Regions from separate parts of the Homo sapiens genome. Here regions 1 and 3 are each linked to region 2. The links are contacts of gene promoters, found by promoter capture Hi-C in blood cells and fetal thymus (Javierre and others, 2016). All regions are on one chromosome and are shown on one strand. Each heading gives the region's core, a stretch centred on a gene start or on the middle of the fragment in contact. The rest is flanking DNA. Distances are from core to core; before and after follow the strand shown. Region 1 overlaps STAT1 (signal transducer and activator of transcription 1). Region 2 holds the start of OSGEPL1-AS1 (OSGEPL1 antisense RNA 1). Region 3 overlaps GLS (glutaminase).

Region 1 (4,097 bases), core at 1,598-4,097, 1.2 Mb before region 2:
GCAGAGGTGTGGTTGATTGTGCTTTGAATGTTGTTTGTATAGATAAGGAGTTATTTTCATAGAACAGAAACAGGACTTGAGCCTCCAGCACAGTCCATTGTGCAACCATTGCTTAATGAGGATGCTGGACTCACACTTGTGAGATCATAATATGGTTTGCTTTTTACTTTCTAATTCCGTCTGAAATATACATAATTTCAATTCAACAAACTGTTTCGAGCACATAGTATATGCAGGGCACTGTCCAAGGTCCATAAGATGTTAAAAAGCAAAATACCCCACTACTCTACCCCCTCCCCACCCACCTTCCCCCGCCGGGGACTCTGGAGGCATCACAGAGCTTTACAAGGAAAACTGGAACCGATGCTCTAATAGAGGTACAGAATTCAGTGAGACGCAAGTCAAAGAAAGCTTAATTGTGAGTAAGTCTCAGACAACTTTATGAAAGAAGGGGCTTTTGTACATAGCTTTGAATGCTATAGGATTTAGAGACGCAAAAATTTGTGGAGAGGCTGTTTCCAAGGGCGAGTAGCTGGAGCAAAGCAGAAATGTTGGGCACAGTTGAAAAACAGTAAATGATTTGGTGACTGGGTTGCTTTGTTGATGGATGAAGATGGGGTGGGGTGGAAATCTGCCTAGGAATGGACAGATCATAGGATTTTTGCACAGGAGATTGATGTGGTCCAATCTGTGGGCAGCAGAGGCTGGACTGGGAAGGTAGAATGTTGGAGACAGGAAGGAGCAGGTCTTGGGATGGAGTGGAAGGAATCAACCCTAAATCTGAGATTTGAGCTCAGTGACTGGGAGATGGCCATGCCACTCCCTGAGTTGGTAACAGGTTTTGTGAGTAGATGAGACTGACTCCAGATTTGTGAACATGAGCTTATTTATTCATTGTTTTTTTTTTTTAGAGACAGAGTCTCTCTCTGTCTCCCAGGCTGGAGTACAGTGGCGCGATCTCAGCTCACTGCAACCTCCGCCTCCTGGGTTCAAGCAATTCCCCTGCCTCAGCCTCACGAGTAGTTGGGACTACAGGTGCACACCACCATGCCCTGCTAATTTTTTTTTGTATTTTAGTAGAGACAAGGTTTCACCATGTTGCCCAGGCTGGTCTTGAACTCCGGAGCTCAGGCAATCCGCCCACCTTGGCCTCCGAAAGTGCTGGGATTACAGGCGTGAGCCACCTGGCCAGCCCAAACATGAGCTTATTAATTCACCTCTTCTGTGCCAGGTGCTACATATGTACTAGCTCAACCAGCCTTAAGAACCAACTGTGGCAGGGTGCGGAAGCTCACGCCTGTAATCCCAGCACTTTGGGAGGCTGAGGTGGAAGGATTGCCTGAGGTCAGGTGTTTGAGACCAGCCTCAGAAACATAACGAGAGGCTGTCTCTACAGAAAATTTAAAAATTAGCCAGGCTTCTTGGCTCGTGTTTATTGTATTAGTCTGTTCTCATGCTGCTATAAAGAACTGCCCGAGACTAGGTAATTTATAAAGTGAAGAGGTTTAATTGACTCACAGTTCTGCATGGCAGAAGGCATCTCTTCACGGGGCAGCAGGAGAGAGAATAGATGCAAGCAGGGGAAATGCCAGTGGCTTATAAAACCATCAGATGTCATGAGGCTCACTCATTATCACGAGAACAGCATGGGGGAGACTGCCCCCATGATTCAGTTACCTCCACTGGTCCCGCCCTTAACACATGGGAATTATATTACAATTCGAGGTAAGATTTGGGTGGGGGCATAGAGCCAAACCATATCACTTGCAGTCTGAGCTCCTTGGGAGGCTGAGGTGGGAGGATTGCTCTAGTCCAGGGGTTGGAGGCTGCAGTGAACTGCGCTCCACTGCCACTGCGCTCCAACCTGGATGACAGAGCAAGTTCCTGTCTACTAAACACACACACACACACCTTGTTGATAGGGGAGTAAGTTACCTGGGTTCGCTTGGCTAATAAGAGGCGTTGCAGCTCCCATTGCCTGACGGTCCAGCATATCTGCTTTAGGTAGATCCTTATTAGTTACCAAGCAGGGAGGGAGACAGCCACAGATTTTTCCACTCAGGTAAAATAAAACTGAACTGAAAAATCAAATTGCTTCAGCAGGAGTGCCAAGGGGCTGGGCTTGGGTCCGTTTCTACTGGTATATATGAGGATAACTAGCTTTATAGGCCAGACATTTCCTCACACTCCTTTGGAAGGACATTTGTGGAGTAGGCGTGACCTCATGCCTGCATACATGTGCTCGGCTACAAGTATGCATACACACTCTTCCATGCCCTACTTGAAAATCCAGACTCCTTCCCCAGAGGTCTGGCAGGACAAGATTCACTTGTGTCTGCTCTGCATATTGCCACCTGTGTGCTGATATAAATCCTAAGTTACATGATGGTCATGGGAGACTCTCCGTTTTCCTAATGAATTTTAGGACTTGCTTATATCAAGTTTTTGTTGTGATTTTGAATCTTTAGGATCACTATGTAAAAATGGACTTAACAGTTATCCAAAAAGCTAAGTGTTACTTTATCCTTTTAAATTACATTTAATGATGTTTTAATCTTTAAAAATCATTACTTCTTTATGCCAGATTTATTGTTTGTAGTAGGCAAAGAAGAAAATATATCTTTTTAAATGTGTATAAGAAAAATAATGAATTTTACCATATGAATCATAAATATAAAACAGAAGTTTGAAAATATTTGAGTTAAATTACAAATGTACTGTGATTTGTAGGAGAGCAATTTTGGGAGAGTCTTGTGATTTGTCTTAAAGCAAGTCTAATTAAAATAATGTTTTTCATGTATTTATTTGATAAAATCACAAACTCATTTTAAAGGCATATTTATTGGATACCTACTATGTGGTTGACATTGTTCTAGGGATACACCAGTGCACAGAATCCTCCACCAACATCCATCCCTTCAAGTGGTGAAAACAGACAATAATGAAAATAAAATATGTGGTAGGTCAGATGGTGGTGTAAGTACTATGAAGAAAAATAAACCAGGGAAAAGAGAGAGCATGTTTCCAGGGTGGGAGGTGGTTGCAGTTTAAATAAAAGAGGCCAGAGAAGGCTGCCCTGATATGTTGACAATAAGCAAAGACATGAAGATGTGTTTCGTGGAGGAGAAAAAAAGTTCATCCCCAAACTCAATTAAAAACAGGCTTTAGACTATAAATGCCATTTAAATAAAATATTCCTGGGACAAACTATGTTTTGGATTAAGCAAGATATTTAAGAGTACAACCTGATGCTAGGAAGGCTTTCTTTGGAGCTATGGTTTCCATATACATAGAAAGAATGTATATTCTTTTTCCCTATAGGATGTCTCAGTGGTACGAACTTCAGCAGCTTGACTCAAAATTCCTGGAGCAGGTTCACCAGCTTTATGATGACAGTTTTCCCATGGAAATCAGACAGTACCTGGCACAGTGGTTAGAAAAGCAAGACTGGTAAGGAAAATTCACTAGACAGAAGAAGAAGTTTACACCTTAAAAGTACTGGTTGATTAAGTGACTTGGGGCCATGTTTACTGGAAGATGAATTCCATCAATGGCCACTGGAATTATTTGTTGTAGAAAAGTTTGTTGATTTAAAAAATGACTCAACAAAGTTGAGCCAAAAAGTGTCTCAACAAAGTTAAGTATATTAGTCATTAAGCACTTTTATACAGTTTTGCCAAATTTAATTTATGATAGATATTCCTAAATGCTTTGGACAAGTTACGGAATACTGACACCGATTATTTTCCAACTTAGGATCCAGACTATAGAAAGAAGTAATTTAAAAGAAATAAAGCCAAATTAATGGTTAAACATTGATTAGAAATATGAAGAAGGTAGTAAAATTAAGGGGATTTTTTTTAACTGATAGGTGTTCTACTTTAAAATTTATTATTTGCTAATTTAAAAACGTCCTGAAAGTATTTGACATAGAAAGTGAAGGGTCCCCTGTTGACTTTTCCCCCTTCAGAGATAGTCACCATGAACACTGTCATGCACAATCTCTTAGAGTTTAGAATTTTTTGTGCTAATTGCACATAAGAGAAATACCACATAAACTGCTGCTAAAAGCAATGTCAGTTTCAAAAGAAGAAAAT
Region 2 (4,223 bases), core at 900-3,399:
CCCCGGAGGTGGAGGTTGTAGTGAGCTGAGATGGCACCACTGCACTCCAGCCTGGCAACAGAGTGAGACTCCATCTAAAAAAAAAAAGAAAGATTCTTATATGTTTTAATATATAATATGTATTAATAATAAAATTTTCCTCTGAAGGCTACAAATGGAAAGCTAGACACACAATATCTGAGACCAAATAAGCATATCTAGATTCAGCTGGAACTCTCGATTTATGTTGAACTTACATAGGCCATATTTTTTGAGAATGCCCATGAGTGGCATTCTAACTATCTGCATAAAAGTACAGACAGGCCTCAGAGAGCATACATGCCTTTCCCCCAATAACCCTCTCCTATGTTACAATAGAGAACATAAAAAATGTATATCTTTGCTAAATACATGGGACTTGTATAAGTGCCACTTTACATATATTCGGTCAAGGGAAAGATAAAATTCCATACTAATGTGCCCTAGAGTTCTCCTGTTTCACATAATAACAGCATTCGGACTCAACACTGGCCAAGAGTGCCTAGACGAGGAATCTACCAATGATAGCACACACAATAGGATCTTGCTTGTCTTGACAGCACAGAAGAGCATTGGGATATACTTGCTGAACATAATTGGAATTGTAAGAAAAATAATACCTGATGTGAAAGGTTTTATGTTCAAACTGGATTCCAGTGTATAACAGAAATAAGCTCTGACCTCTCTAACCGTATGACTAATTTTTCTTAACTTTTAGGTTTTAATTTTTCTTTTTTCCCTTGTTTAGGCCAACAGTGCACCCTAGAGAAAATGTGAGTTATTTTCTCTTCTAGCAGTTAAGAAAACAGACTCCAGTGCCAGATGTCCTGACTTCTAATCCTAGCTTTGCTTTTCCTAGTTGTGTGACCTCCAAAGCACCCAAACTCTGTGGCCCAGTTGCCTGTAAAATGAGGACAGAAACTATTTCATGGGATTTTGAAAGAAATTAATCTACAGCAGGTGCCTGGTACATAGTGCCACTTTATCATTATTGTTACACATAAATGAAATTTTTGAAAAACATAAGTTCCAAATAAAAAACCTCAACCATATTCTGGTAATTATTTACTTATTTATCTGTATCCACCTCTAGACTGTACTCTGTGGCTTCCCAACATGTTGTTATGGGATTTACTCATCTTTTATACCCAGAGCTTCACAACGTGCAAAGTGCAGGTATATATGCCAGCCCTGTACAACAGTGGATTCTAAGGTCCTTGCTTACTAAAATCTTAAATACCAGCAGGGGAAAAGCCTGACTCTTGGAATAAATCTGTCCAATGTTCAAAACAAAGTTCACAAACCAATAAAAGAAAAAAAAAAAAAAAAGCAGGTGCAAGACTTTGAAAACATACCATGCTGAATTTCATGTACATAGTAAGGAAGGACAACATAATGCATTATGAAAATAGGATGGTTTAAGGCAACTGAATATTTACCACAGCCTTTTTTTTTTTTTTTTTTTTTTTTTTGAGACAGAGTCTCGCTCTGTAGCTCAGGCTGGAGTGCAGTGGCGCGATCTCGGCTCACTGCTACCTCCGCCTCCCGGGTCCCAGTTCAAGCAGTTCTCCTGCCTCAGTCTCCCGATTTTTTTTTTTTTTAATTGTAAAAATAAGCCAGCCCCTTTCTTCCTAGTGAAGTGGGAGAAACGGTTTACACTGTCCGATGAGAAACACTTCCGTTCTTTGGTAACCCTGCTAGGGGGCGCCGCTAGATTCCATCCTATTTCTCCGATGAAAGTATCAGGTACCTCACCCCTAAGTTTAGATTTGATGATAGTTCCCTTAAAAATGAATGACGAATAATCTACCCCATCCTTTTCTCACAGTAGCAACCAAATTCCAGCCAAGGGCAAAAAAAAAATTTCTTTTTAATGTAGCTTAGTGTTTGGAACTTGATGTTGTGTAGTCAGACAAACCTGTATTCGGCCTCCGCTGGATCAGTCACTAGCTGTGTAATTTTACAGAACTCTCATCACCTGCAAATCTGGGGGAAATGCAGGTGCGCACAGAGAGCGTTTTGGGCAAAGACGGCCTTTAAGCTTTTCTTCACTAAGCATGCCGCTCGCTAGCGGAACAGCAGCCAGCTCTGGACGGGACCTTGCACAGTTCCGATGACATCACTTCCGGGCGCCAGGTTCGGGCTTTCTCCTGCAGCGATAAGGGCAGTCGACAGTCTTTAGTAGGGAAAGGAGACAAGTGCTAGCTACTGCCGCCCAAGTGGAAGGTGGGTGAAATTGCTCACTCTTCACCCCACTGACGCTTTTGCGCACCTGGAAAAGCGGTTCCAGTTTGCGCCCGTCGCCGCCTTACAGCCGACAGGAGACCAGCGCTACCCAAGTCACGTGGGTTCAGCCTGCAGCTTTCTTGGCCCGAAAGGGTAGTGCTTCGTACAATCCTCCTTGTCCAGATTTTGTTAATGCAAATCTAATTCCTCTAGGTTGTGTCTGTCTGGGCTGCACTGCCCGCAACTGCCTTCTGCAAATAGGTCGCTCATCTCTAATCCCTGGGATGCCGTGTCCCTTTAGTGTGGTGGAGAAAGGCCCTGCTTTAACACCCAGAAAGTTTTAGAACGGATGATCTGGGGGCATAAAATTAGGTGCTTCGCAGTGTGAAAATACTAGTGTGCTTTAGTGATGGGCTGCTATTATTTTGGGGGAAAAGGATTTGGGAAGATCCTTGTTATGACAAAACCTGTAGCAAAAAGTGGAGATTTAATTCCAAAGATTGCAATTAAGGATAAAATAGGTGTTAGGTTGCAGTTGGCGTGTGTGTGTTTATGTTAACTCTTGTTTTTGAACCAAATGATCCAGTTTTATTTTGAAAGATGTTTTTAGGAGATGGAATACATTAACAGTATTTTTATCTGTTCCATCTGCCTTTGTTGTTTGATTCTTTTTAGAAAATCCACATTTTGTCTTAATTTTAGCTGTCAAAAAATAAATAGCACTTTTCAGAGGACTCTATCAATTATTGTACTTTATATTAGCTGTCTTAATAGTAAGTCTTTTGGTAGGAACAGCATGCAAGTAATAATAATACTAAAAAATTTTATATCTGACCCCTGTTTTCCCCCTTGGAGAACATTATATTCATTCATAATATTATTTATATTCCCATGTTGCTATAGCCTTTACAAACTTTTGGTGACTTTTACAAACTTTCCTGTAATTCTGTAAAACTATATATTGAAAAATAAGCTGGCTAATGTCAGTTGCAAATAATAAGTTGTTTCTGTAATTCTTTTTCAGGAATTATCTATAGAGTAAGTATGCTAATCTTGACTAAGACTGCAGGAGTTTTTTTTAAACCATCAAAAAGGAAAGTTTATGAATTTTTAAGAAGTTTTAATTTTCATCCTGGAACACTATTTCTTCATAAAATAGTATTGGGAATTGAAACTAGTTGTGATGATACAGCAGCTGCTGTGGTGGATGAAACTGGAAATGTGTTGGGAGAAGCAATACATTCCCAAACTGAAGTTCATTTAAAGTAAGTAGACATTATCTTAGTCATTTCCACTTTTTTGGAAAAAGTAAAATCATTCTTTTGTATTTGTCATATATAAAAGTTTTCAGGAGCTACTGTCTTATTCCTTTTTGCAAACACTTTTAATAACTGCTATAGAAAACCTCAAACACTTCATCCTGGCTTTTAAGGGTCTTCACAATAAGGTCCCAACCTTAACTAATCCTGTTGCCAAAAGAAACTGAGCTCATTCCCAGCTTCCGTATTTATTGATTTTCCTTCAGTAATGCATTCCTTCTTTTCTCCACTTCTATGTTTCATGGTCTCAGCTGAAGTCCTAGGAAAACTGTTAGTCATTGAAAAAAAAAATCCTATTCATATTTATACATATAACTTGTATTAGTACTTAAATAATAATACACTGTTGTATTAAAGCATAGAATGGTGCAAGGATTATAAACTGTGATGTTTATAGAGGACTACCAGGCAGGTTACCTAAATAAATGGACAAGATAAAAAGTGGAAAATGTCTGGAGGAGGTCACTACTCAGCTCTAGCCAGTTGTCATGTGGGAATGCAGGACCTGTGTTATTAGATTATTATAATTTTCAAGGGAAAATGGAAATCCAGATTTTTTTTTTCTTTTTTTTTGGTGAGACAGAGTCTCACTCTGTCACCAGGCTGGAGTGCAGTGGCATGATCTCGGCTCACTGCAATCTCCGCCTCTCGAGTTCAAAC
Region 3 (4,869 bases), core at 410-2,909, 1.1 Mb before region 2:
AAGAGGAACTGTCTTTGCTTACCCCACTGACCAAATTAGTTTCCCCATACCAAAGGGGGAATTCATACTCCTCAGTCTGGTATGCAGTTCTCTATAAATTAGTTTTACACTATTTATTCCTAACTTAATCCTTATAATTCCCCAATGTAATTGACTAGACTCAATGACCTGTAAATAAGTGCTATCTCATCTTTTTTTTTTTTAACCTATCATGCCTTCTGTGTAAAACCTTCCTCTCCCTAAATCTTAAGCTATCAATGATCATTTCAATTGTTTCACAGGACTTTGCCCCCACCAGATTCTCTATACTCTTTAGCATTCTCTGGTATCACTAAGTTTTGTCCTTTTCTTGTACCACTTATTATATGCCAAGCAATAGCAATAAAGATCCCTAAAGTAAGGTTGTGGTCTAGGAGAAATATGACTAAAGCCATGAGACAAATACTATGGTAGAAGTGTTTTTCAAAAAGTATTTTATTAGCAAGTACAGATGAAGTATTTAATTTTGCCTTAATCGGTAGGGGAAATCAAGAAAGTTTCTAATCTGTAATTAGGAGCAACAAGGCAAACTCATCTTCATCAGTTCAAAAATCTTATAAATAAAAAACTATCAAATGAAAGGAAGAAAATAAAAAAAAAATCCTTACTAAGAACTACAAAATGAACAGAGGAAAATAATTGAAACCAACTGTATGGTCTTATTTTGTTAAATAACATTTCATATTACCTAACCTCCCCAAACTATAAAGCTTCAAGGCTGGGGTCAAGTCTTTCTTATTTTTTTTTTCGCATAACTCTTAAAACACATAGTATAGTATGGTAAACCTATGAGACAATGAAAAACTGTCTTTTCAAGTGGGATTAAAAAAAATGAGGCCTAATAATAACACAATACAAAAGGATTTGCTAGTCTTTATGCCTTCATTTAAGAATAATGATCCTTCAGATGATAATTCAGGGTTGTTTTAAAATCAGTGTATCATTTTGAATTTATAGTGAGCTGACTGATAACAACCGTCTATCAACACCAGCAAACTGGCAGATTAATAAACCTGTTAGATAGAAAGTTGAATTGATGGTGGCTGACCATATAGTAAAATAGCATATGAGAATGAATGTTAAGTCTAACAAATTGACAAATTCTAGTTATCATCCAAGTGATTTTGCCCCAAGGCTAATCATTGGTTGAATTTAAAAATAAAAACTTACATCTTTTAAGGCTTTACTGCTAAAAAAGGACTCTCACTTTCTATCATATTAAAACCCTATGAGGTAAATTAAGGTGGGTTAATTGTCCCCAGTGTACAGATAAAAGAGAGTCCTAGAAGAGTGTGGTGGCATGCACCTACAGTCCCAGCTACTTGGGAGACTGAGGCAAGAGGACTGCTTGAGCCCAGGAGTTCAAGGCTGCAGTGAGCTATAATGGCACCAATGTACTCCAGCCTGGGTGACACAGCAAGATTCCATTTCTAAAAAAAGAAAGAAAATGTTAATTTAAATTTTAAATTTAAAAAAAATTTTGTTTTAAGAGTATCCAAGTCAAGCAGAATGTCCAATGTCACATAAATCTTAAGTGGCTGGACCAGAATTAGTCCTACAAAGCTCATCCTTTGTTCCCAGTTCCAGACTCTTCCTGCTCTGCCACCTCATGCTCTCAGTGGTTAGCACTCTATTTTAGGAATAATATCTGTAATTCTTAAACAATAATAAATTTCTAACCAAAATGCACATAAGAGAACTAAACTGGTCTGCCTTGATAAAACTGCATCCTGTCAAAGCAAAGATGAGATTATATTCAATTAGTGCTGCTGTTTTGACTGGACTTTATAGCACAAATTCATTTAATAGCACACCAAAGTAAAAAGCACAAAAGCCACTTTATGTGAGGAAATGGTCAGGCTGCCCCTGTCAGCTCATGGTAATTTGTCCATACGTTTGCACAACTTCAGAAGTTTGACCCAAAAGGCAGTCTGGCTGTCTCGGGTGGGAAGACTAGGATCTGGGGAGATCAAGTCTATAACATCCAACTCTGTTAGTTTTTCCAATAACTCATTTCTTCAGCCAAGTATCCTTTAATATATCAGTCTAGATGGAATAATACAGATACTATATGAATTCTGTCACTGCAATCACTCTGATACCACTATAGACAACTTGTTCAGAATAACTAACATATATAGGTAGAAGTTAATGAAAAACTTCAGCCACACATAAGGAAAAATGAAACAGCTATGAAAACGGAATGGGCTGCCTTCTAAGGGAGTGAACTCCCTTGTGAAGGCAGTATTCAGGTAGAGATGAATAACAACAACCTATAGGGAGTATGTAACAGAAGAGAAGAAAGCAGCAGCTGGGGAGAAGGGTTTGTAAGATCTCTTATAATCCTCAATCTAAAAAAATTAACTCTATAAATTGAATTAGTTTGCTGCTAATAGATGAAAAATAAAAAATCAAAACAAGTCCTAATACTGTCTGAACTTGTTTAGGTCATTTAATATCTGCGGGCAGCTTATATAATACGTAAAATGAGCTGGAATTAAATGTTCTTTAAAGTTACTTCCAAGCTTAATTCTCAGTTTTTGAGTTGCTAAAAATAGATGTCCTCCAAATCACTACACTAAAGTGAGATCATAAACTTTATTCACTCACAACTTACATACTTTTATTTTACACATTAGCATATTCATCTGGGTTCTAAAACTAACAGAAGTATTTAATGCCACTGAACTAGGGAACTTAAAAATGGTTAAAGTGGTAATTTTTATGTTATGTATATTTAACCACAATTTTTTGAAAAAGCTAAGCAGAACTGGATACAGAAGGTAAGAGTGAAGGAGGATAGCTAAAGTAGAGACATGAAGAACAGTCAACTGATACAAGATACAAAAATCCACAAAAGAACAAACCCACCCTTAAGAGTACTGGTTAAAGCAGAACCAATCAAGGCATGAGAGAACTTACCAATAAATATATTTTAGTGTAGGGCTACGCAAACTACAGCAGGGACCTCCTCTTTTTGTAAATAAAGTTTTATTGGAAGACTGCCACATCTATTTACCTATTGTTTGCAGCTATTTTGCTACCACCACTGAACTGAGAAGTTGTAGTAGTGACTAGAGAACCCCAAAAGCTGAAAATATTTACTATTTGGCCTTTCAGGGAAAGTGTGCCAGCACTTGTCTTACAGCATCACTGTATTACAGTGCAGTATAATAATGCATCCTTAAAATACACATAAGTTGAACAAGAAATGTTAAACTCTATTGATTACAATGTTTTAATATGGCAGAGAAATATGTAACATTTACTAGGGAGATATATCAAGCATAGTTTTAAATTTTTAAAGTTTGATGTTTAAGGGTACCAGTGAATATGATTAGACAATGCTGATAAACAGGAGCTGTGCAAATTCATACATAACCTATTTTCATACTTTTCTTTCAATGTAATGGTGCTTACTGTTCTTATACAACCAGAATCAGGATATTAGAAGAGTAGACAGTAGAGATTTACAAGTTCAAAACTTAACAGATGTGGTTCCTTTGATTTTCAAAACTATGGAATGTTTTTTACTGTTTTAGACGTTTCCCACTTATAATGGGGGGGAAATCTTAAAAGTAACAAAAGGAGGCAGGAAAAACAATGCTCGTTCTCATAAACCACAACTGCTAATGTCATTTTGGCTTATTTCCTTCTATTACTTTTTCTGAGCTTTTTAAATAGCTTGAGATCATACTGCATAGAAAATTCTGTATTCTAACTTTTGGCCGTTATAACATTACCTTATATCCTAAAAAGTACCTGCAAACATTTTAAATGACTAAATAAGAGACCCTCATATGAATGTACCACAATTTACTTAACTATCCCACTAATGTTGAACATGCGTTTTTCTCCATTTTTCTCTAGTATGCATAACACTGTACCAAAAATAATAGGAAATAAATCTTTCTAACACTTCAGTTTATTTTGTGAACTTAGATTCCTAAAAAGGTATGAATACTTTGTAAGTTCCTCATAGAGCTTAAAAATTGCTCTTCAGAAAGTTTACCATCAAGAATTGAAGGACGGGTCTATGTCACTCAAAATATCCTCATCAAGAAGACAATTTTAAAAATCTTTTTTAGAAGCCTGTACCAGAAATAAATAGGCAAAAATATATTTCTTAATCCTGAAAGCTATCAGTTTTATTCATTATGCAACATCTACAGTTCTATGTTTCGAAAGTAATGCTTTTACTATAAACATTTCTTTATAATGAATTTAACATATCAAGCAGAGGACACTCCCAAATGGAAGTCAAGGTACATTAACATTTTGCTTCTACTACGTTGTAGGGGGTCAGAAAATCACTAAGTGCAGTGATGACTCACAAGTAATGTGTTTCATAACCAAAGCAATTTTGCACCTGAGTAGATTTCAGGGTAAAACTGTACTAACAGTATCTCTATGTGAAAGCTATGTACCTCACTGAGAGATATCAGTAATTAATAACTATTTTTATAAATACATCTGTTTACTCACCTTTCTTAAGCATTTCTCTTACTAGCAAATGACTTAAAGGTGAAAAGGCACAGACAGGCAACTATAAAATATAACCTTAATTTATATAGGATTTAACATGATTGAGCTCCCTCACACAAATTCTATAATTAGGCTTTCAGCTTATATGGTCATAATTTTTCTTCATTTCAAATATCACAAGAAGGAAGTAGTACAGCCTTTTACTATTACTTTCTTTTTTTTTTTTTTTTTGAGACAAGAGTCTCGCTCTGTCACCCAGGCTGGAGTGCAGCGGCATGATCTCGGCTCACTGCAACCTCCACCTCCTGGGTTCAAGCGATTCTCCTGCCTCAGCCTCCCGAGTAG

Evidence for each region. The method cuts DNA at HindIII sites, captures the fragments that hold promoters and counts their contacts. A CHiCAGO score of 5 or more calls a contact.
Region 1: a fragment that was not itself captured here is called in contact with the fragment with the promoter of OSGEPL1-AS1 in region 2 in 1 of 17 cell types (fetal thymus); the score reaches 5.7 in fetal thymus.
Region 3: a fragment that was not itself captured here is called in contact with the fragment with the promoter of OSGEPL1-AS1 in region 2 in 1 of 17 cell types (fetal thymus); the score reaches 5.3 in fetal thymus.

Annotation. Positions count from the first base shown.
Region 1 is chr2:191,009,229-191,013,325 of GRCh38, reverse strand. STAT1 (signal transducer and activator of transcription 1) reads left to right here. Exons shown (of 25, transcript NM_007315.4): 3 at 3,322-3,450. The coding sequence starts at 3,323. Among named protein-coding and RNA genes, the nearest start is that of STAT1, 2.9 kb to the left of the region's middle. RefSeq lists enhancers at 914-973, 1,014-1,073, 1,502-1,591, 1,892-2,001. The HindIII fragment of the contact is 4,868 bases long and covers 414-4,097 here.
Region 2 is chr2:189,760,706-189,764,928 of GRCh38, reverse strand. OSGEPL1-AS1 (OSGEPL1 antisense RNA 1) reads right to left here and starts at 2,149. Exons shown (of 2, transcript NR_102429.1): 1 at 1,937-2,149; 2 at 1-74. OSGEPL1 (O-sialoglycoprotein endopeptidase like 1) reads left to right here and starts at 2,137. Exons shown (of 9, transcript NM_022353.3): 1 at 2,137-2,244; 2 at 3,269-3,509. The coding sequence starts at 3,289. It also overlaps a transcript of ANKAR not described here and a transcript of ORMDL1 not described here. RefSeq lists enhancers at 1,462-2,208, 2,495-2,654. The HindIII fragment of the contact is 3,776 bases long and covers 2,062-4,223 here.
Region 3 is chr2:190,886,803-190,891,671 of GRCh38, reverse strand. The region is part of intron 1 of GLS (glutaminase); the gene reads right to left. Among named protein-coding and RNA genes, the nearest start is that of GLS, 8.4 kb to the right of the region's middle. The HindIII fragment of the contact is 1,815 bases long and covers 752-2,566 here.